Regions from separate parts of the Homo sapiens genome. Here region 1 is linked to region 2. The links are contacts of gene promoters, found by promoter capture Hi-C in blood cells and fetal thymus (Javierre and others, 2016). All regions are on one chromosome and are shown on one strand. The core of a region is centred on a gene start or on the middle of the fragment in contact, and the rest is flanking DNA. Distances in the headings are between cores, read along the strand shown.

Region 1 (3,410 bases), core at 877-3,376, 560 kb after region 2:
AGTTGTGTGTAGCATTTGAATAATCATCGTAATAACTCTTCTACAGTCAATTCTTTCTTTAATATGTCTGCTTTTCTTAACTGGAATTTTTGCCTAAGATATTTTTAACAATTTAATAAAAATCAAAGGATACATTGTTCATCAGTCTAAGGTATAGCCTCTCCAGAAATCATCCAAAAATGACAGTTTCATATAAAAAGTTTTTGACTTTCTACAGTAATAAGATTCATATATTTTCTCACTATGTCCAGAAATTCTGGCTGGATTATTTAGGGGGCTGATGTGAGGACTGAATGAGTTAATACATGCTAAGGTGTTAATATATAGTGCCTGACACATAGTAAATGTTCAACTTACTGCTATAATGGACAAAAACTGCTAATAATGATGATATTAGCTACAGACTCCTTTTCTATCAGCCATACCACCCAGCACAGGCCTAGGCAAAAAATACAATATTTAGGTAGATGCTCAGTGACTATGTCAACATTTGAGATTTCCCTTTACACTCAAAATGTAGCTTACTTTATGTTTTCTAAAATATTCTAGGTATTAATTAATTTATTAATTTATTTATTTTGAGACGGAGTCTCACTGTCACCCAGGCTGGAGTGCAGTGGCGTGATCTCAGCTCACTGCCAGCTCTGCCTCATGGGTTCACGCCATTCTCCTGCCTCAGCCTCCCGAGTAGCTAGGACTACAGGTGCCCGCCACCACGCCCGGCTAATTTTTTGTATTTTTAGTAGAGACGGGGTTTCACCGTGTTAGCCAGAATGGTCTCGATCTCTTGACCTCGTGATCCACCTGCCTCAGCCTCCCAAAGTGCTGGGATTGCAGGCGTGAGCCACCGCGCCCAGCCGTATTAATTTTTATTTTTATTTTTCAGAGACTGTGTTGCCCAGGCTGGAGTGTAGACCAGCCTGAGTTTGAGACCAGCCTGAGCAACACAGTGCAACCCTGTCTCTACAAAAACAAAAAATTAACGCAGGCATGGTGGCCCACGCTTGTAGTCAGCTACTCTGGAGACTGGGTGGAAGGATAGGCTGAGCAGGGGAGGTCGAGGCTGCAGTGAGCCATGATCGCGCCACTGCACTCCAGCCTAGGTGACAGAGCGAGATCCTGTCTCAAAAATAAATAAACAAATAAATAATAAAATAAAAATCAGCTGTTGGTTCAACTCAACTTTCTTAATTTTGTTTATGAATGTCTGCCTTTATCTTAATGTTCAGGATTATTTATTTATTTGAGACCGGGTTTCGCTCTGTCGCCCAGGCTGGAGTGCAGTGGCGTGGTCTCGGCTCACTGCAGTCTCCTCCTCCCGGGCTCAAGGGATCATCCCACCTCAGCCCCCCAAGTAGCTGGGATTACAGGCGCGCGCCACCACGCCCGGCTGATTTTTGTATTTTTTTGTAGAGGAAGGGTCTCGCTTTTTTGCCCAGGCTGGTCTTGAACTCCTGGACTCAAGCGATCCGCCTGCCTCGGCCTCCCAAGGTGCTGGGATTTCGGCCGTGAGCCACCGCGCCCGGCCTAATCATGTTCGGGCTTTCTTATTTTCTAATCAATGTATTTAAGGCGATACATTTTCCTCAGAGTGTCGCTTTGACTGCATGCCACAATGTGAATAATGACAGGCAGGGATGTATATTAGGCGCTTATCACAGTTAGTGCTGAATATTGGTTAGTTCCCTTTAACCTTATCCTGTACTTGGCCGACAAGCATGTGTTGGGCGTCCGCCCGACGCCAAGAAGCTCTTTTTCAAAGCCGCTTTCCCTGCGCAGCCCCTGTTCTCCCGCGCGGGCAACTACTCCCGGCCTGGCCGTCACGCCCCCTCACGTCACTCACCGCCCCGCCACGTTCTCATGACACCACGCAGGTGCCAGCAACGAACTCCAGAACCCTCCGTGCCCTTCCGCTTTTCCAAAGGCATCTCTGGGACGACGGCAAGAAAAATAGTTCCTTGACAACTGAGCTCTTTTCAGGAGGAGGCGGGACCAGGCGGGACTTACAGGCGGAACGAAACGGAAGTCCGTGGTCCTTGTAACGGGATTGGGCCCCGCGCTCCCGGGGGGCGGGCTCAGATGGGCGGAGGGATTCATTTTAAGCAACGGGCGGCCCTCCGCCTCCATTGAAGGCGGGGAAATACCGCGGCGCGGACGGTAGTTGCTGTGGTTTCCGTTCTGAGCTCGCAGCTTAGGAGCTGAAGATCGCGGACTTAGCGTTGCCGCGTCCGAGTCCGGCCATCAGTGGCTGCAGATCCGGAGGCCAGGAGCTCAACCACCCTTCTTCGGAACAGGGCCGGCCTGCTGCTGTGCCCTCGACGCTCGGTGCCTGTATCTACTCCGGGGCCTAGGTCGGCTCCGGGGGCGGCTTAGGAGAAGGCCGCCGGCGAGATGTTCAAAAACACGTTCCAGAGCGGCTTCCTCTCCATCCTCTACAGCATCGGCAGCAAGCCTCTGCAAATCTGGGACAAAAAGGTCGGGCTAGGGGCGGCGACGGGGCGGGGTGGAGGGGCTGCACCCCCTCCTCGTCCGGGGGCTGGGGACGGGGAATGGTTGTGTCGAATTGGGGCCTGGGAGAGGCCGAGAGGACGCTGCTGTGCCTTGTCCCCAGCCTGGCGGGACTGGGGCGCGAGGTGGGGGCGTCGTGTAAGCAGCGGAGGAGGTGGGGGGGGGGCGGTGCATGTGGGTGGGCGTGGCTGAGATCTAAGTGTCCTGCAGCTGTGGTGTGGTTAGGACCGCGACCCTCGCTGCTGTCTTGACTTGGTCGGTCAGTCCATTCTTTTGAGCCACTGTTTCCCCACCAATATAATGGGGTTGATGGTGCCCATCTCGTAGCATGAAATGCACGAACTTATTTGAAGGAGCTTTGGGGATGTAAAGATGAAAGGACCTGCTATTCACGAATTCCAAATATTTACTGATATCCGTTTTTGTGCCAGGCACGGTGCTGGGCACTAGACACAGAGCCTTTGTTCAGGCACCCTTACAGAGGAGCAGACAGAAAGACTCCGGCCAAGCCAGTGATGTTTAAATTGCATTCATTTGCTCCCTTCCTCCCACTGATCCCAAATAAGTCAGAATTCAGTGGCCCTTGGCACCTGCTCCACACTCACTGTGACTTGCCTGTACTATGCCCTCGGTGCCTGATTTCTCCATCAGGAAAACTGCAGAATGCTGACAGTCAAAGTCTTGTTTGGATTAATAAACTCAGAGCCAAGTACAGGCCTCATCTTTATTCAGGCATCCACTAGATGATATGTGTTTGGCCCCACGAGATGATGAATCTGTTTTTTGCAGATGTGAAGAAAGATCTAGCTGTCTATGAATTGGTCTGCATTTTATTACTTTGGTATTTCGTTCTTCATGCAAATTCCCAGGCAATCAGCTGTACTATTTCTTGAATATAAGTT
Region 2 (3,354 bases), core at 812-3,311:
CCTCAGCCTCCTGAGTAGCTGGATTACAGGCGCATGCCACCACACCCAGCTAATTTGTTTTGTATTTTTAGTAGAGATGGGGTTTCACCATGTTGGTCAGGCTGGTCTTGAACTCCTGACCTCATGATCTACCTGCCTCGGCCTCCCAAAGTGCTGGAATTACAGGCGTGAGCCACCACACCCAGCCGCAGGATTAGTTCACTTATAAGAAGAAACAAGACCAGGCATGGTGGCTCATGCCTGTAATCCAAGCACTTGGGGAGACTGAGACAGGAGGTTCACTTGAGCCCAGGAGTTTGAGGCCATTCTGGGCAACATAGGAAGACCTTGTCTCTATAAAAAATGAAAAGTTAGCTAGGCATGATGGCACGCATGCCTGTAGTCTCAACTATTTGGGAGGCTGAAGCGGGAGGACTAGTGGAGCCTGGGAGATGGCGACTGCAGTGAGCTGTGATTGCGCCACTGCCCTCCAGCCTGGGCAACAGAGACCGTGTCTCTAAAAATAATAATAATAATAAAATAAATAAAAATAAGAGAGAGTTTACTTTCCCTCTCTGCTTTCCGCAATGTGAGGACACAGCAGGAAGATGGCCATCTGAAAACTATGAAGATGGTCCTCCCCAGAACTTGACTCTGCTGGCATTCTGACCTCAGTCTTGACAGCTTCCAGGACGGTGAAAAATAAATCTCTGTCGTTTAAACCACCCAGTCTATGATACTCTGTTATAGCGGCCTTAACTGATTAAGACAGTATGATTCTATTTTTTTTTTTTTTTTTGAGACAGAGTCTCACTCTGTCTCCCAGGCTGGAGTGCAGTGGCACGATCTCTGCTCACCGCCACCTCCGCCCCCCGGGTTCAAGTGATTCTCCTGCCTCAGGCTCCCGAGTAGCTGGGACTACTGGCGTGCACCACCATGCCCAGCTAATTTTTGTATTTTTAATAGAGACAGGACTTCGCCATGTTGGCCAGGCTGGTCTCGAACTCCTGACCTCAAGTGATCAGCCCGCCTTGGCCTCCCAAAGTGCTGGGATTACAGGTGTGAGCCACCGCACTCAACCAGTATGATTCAATTTATATAAACTTTTTGGAGGCCAGGCACGGTGGCTCATGCCTGTAATCCCAGCACTTTGGGAGGCTGAGGTGGGTGGATCACTTGAGGTCAGGAGTTTGAGACCAACCTGGCCAACATGGCGAAACCCCATCTCTACTAAAAATACAAAAATTAGCTGGGAGTGGTGGTGCATGCCTGTAATCCCAGGTACTCGGGAGGCTGAGGCAGGAGAATCACATGAACCCGGGAGGCAGAGGTTGCAGTGAGCAAAGATCGTGCCACTGCACCCCAGCCGGGGAGACAGAGTGAGACTCTGTCTCAAAAAAAAAAAAAAAAAAAAAAAAAAAAAAGGTGTGATTTGGGTTTCTAAGGATTCCCAGTGTGTCCTCATCGGTGAGGACCTCTGATGCATGGAGAGGTAAGTGCAGTGGAGAGCATATCCACAAAACAGAGATGAGGCTATTGGGATGCTGGAGATTACGTGACAATTTATGAGTGACACACAGCCAAGAACAGAACCAGGACTGGATGCCCATTTCGTCATTCAACAAATATTTACTGAGCACCTACAATCCCTCAAAAACTGTTCTAGAGTCTAAACCGATGGGGTCGTAACCATGCCCCCAGCCCACTCCCTTGCAGGAAAGACCGTGGCTCCAGGTCCCCCACATTACTGATTAAAAAAAAACTCCAGTGCTCTGGCCATGGGCGTGAAGGCAAGGACAGAGACCGGGAGGATAATGAGGCCAAACAGCTTTGGCCCACCGCCACCGGGACTGGCAAAGAGGCCAGACCTCCTAATGCTCTTCCTTGGAGGAAGGAGCAGTGTTTGATTTGGTCAAGAGGCCAAGACTAAAAGTAAGAGGATAAACACGAGCTGGCTGGACGCGAGGCTGGCTCAGGGCAGTGCTGTCGGGCTGAGGATTCAGGGAGCTGGTGTTGTCCAAGCTTCACATTTGCGGAAACTACAACTCCCAGCGTGTCCCGCGGCCGCCCGAGCGGGCGTCATGTGATGCATGCTCACGTGTCTCCGCAGCCGGCTCGGGAAAGAATCCCCCAAGGTAGGTGGCCGGAGACAGGCTCTGGAGGGTGGAAGTGTTAGATCCCCGAGGTCTGTGGAGCCCCTCAGTCCCCGCCACCGCGGAAAAGCTCAGACCCTTTCCCTGCAGGGGTCCAGATCCTGGCGTCCTCGCCCCACGCCCGTCCCTCTGTTGCGCCAGCTCTGCCGCGCCTTTACCCAGCCAGAGGGTCTCCACCCAGTCCTAGGCCGGGATCGGGTCCCGGAGCTCCTCCCCAGGTTACCCCACAGTAGCCCACCCTTCTCGCTCCAGGCCTGGGAATCGCCCCGCCCCGGCCTCCTGGCCCGGGTGCGCCCTGGCTCACCTCACAAAGCCTCACCTCACAAAGCAGCCCACCCTTTCTATCTCAGGGCTCCAACCCCAGGCTGGACTGGGAGCACACTCCAGTTGGGATCTGAGGGGCCTACATCGCTGGCCTGAGCATGTGGGCATCAGGCTTCTATTCTGGCTCTGCCAGCTACCCACTGTGACCTTAGTCTAACCTCTCCCTCCTGGGCCTGTTTTCCTATCTGTCCTGAAGCTCCATTTCATGAGTAAGCGTGAGAGCCGCTCAGTTTCCTCCAGCTCTGCTGAAGCCAGCACAGAAGTAGCCCAAACTCTTCCCTCTGCTGACAGCAAATTTTAGGCAAAGTCTTGAGAAAGAAGAAATTGGGTCCAGAAAGGGAAGTGAGGAGAATCAGATCCCAGACCTTTGGGGAGAAGGAGCAACCGCCTCTGGCACAGCCCATCAGGGAGAAAGAGCAGGTAAGGTGCAACAATGAGCTGAGTAATTTGCCAGTGAGCAGTGGGGGTGCCGAGAGGTCTTAACCAAGGCAGAGAATCTGCAAGAGGTGGGACCCCCAGCTTCTGAGTTCCACGAGGACCCCAGCCTGCACTCTCATGTGGGTGGCAGGAGAGGCTGGAGGATGGTGCAGGACTCGGGCAGGGGTGCCCAAGGGAAACATTTTGGTTGGAGAGTCAGGAAGCCGCACCAAGCCTTGTGACCTTGGACGAATCACTCTGTAGACCTCTGTCTCTGTGACGTGAGCAGCGGGGAGGAGATGGTCACAGCTCTGGCAGTGGTCACTTTGCAGGGTTCTTTCTCTAGCTACACTGGAAGCCTGGGAGTCCCAAGACTCTGCCTTCGCTGCTCACTGCTTTGATTTTGCTGAGTTGCTGGTTGGGTGACAGGATGTGTAAGAGGATGTGTAAGCCCTGTGACATCTGACAGATCTTTCTGGGT

Evidence for each region. The method cuts DNA at HindIII sites, captures the fragments that hold promoters and counts their contacts. A CHiCAGO score of 5 or more calls a contact.
Region 1: a contact is called between the fragment with the promoter of CFAP20 here and the fragment with the promoter of SLC38A7 in region 2, in 6 of 17 cell types (total B cells, activated CD4 T cells, M0 macrophages and 3 more). The highest score is 7.0, in total B cells.

Annotation. Positions count from the first base shown.
Region 1 is chr16:58,128,097-58,131,506 of GRCh38, reverse strand. CFAP20 (cilia and flagella associated protein 20) reads left to right here and starts at 2,126. Exons shown (of 6, transcript NM_013242.3): 1 at 2,126-2,475. The coding sequence starts at 2,392. It overlaps LOC101927556 (a long non-coding RNA gene), which reads right to left and starts at 2,623. Exons shown (of 4, transcript NR_188516.1): 1 at 1,844-2,623. RefSeq lists silencers at 1,102-1,339, 2,462-2,601 and enhancers at 1,020-1,940, 2,232-2,401, 1,941-2,862. The HindIII fragment of the contact is 18,688 bases long and covers 1-3,410 here.
Region 2 is chr16:58,683,477-58,686,830 of GRCh38, reverse strand. SLC38A7 (solute carrier family 38 member 7) reads left to right here and starts at 2,061. Exons shown (of 12, transcript NM_018231.3): 1 at 2,061-2,114; 2 at 2,653-2,876. RefSeq lists enhancers at 2,275-2,334, 1,845-2,689. The HindIII fragment of the contact is 5,837 bases long and covers 2,004-3,354 here.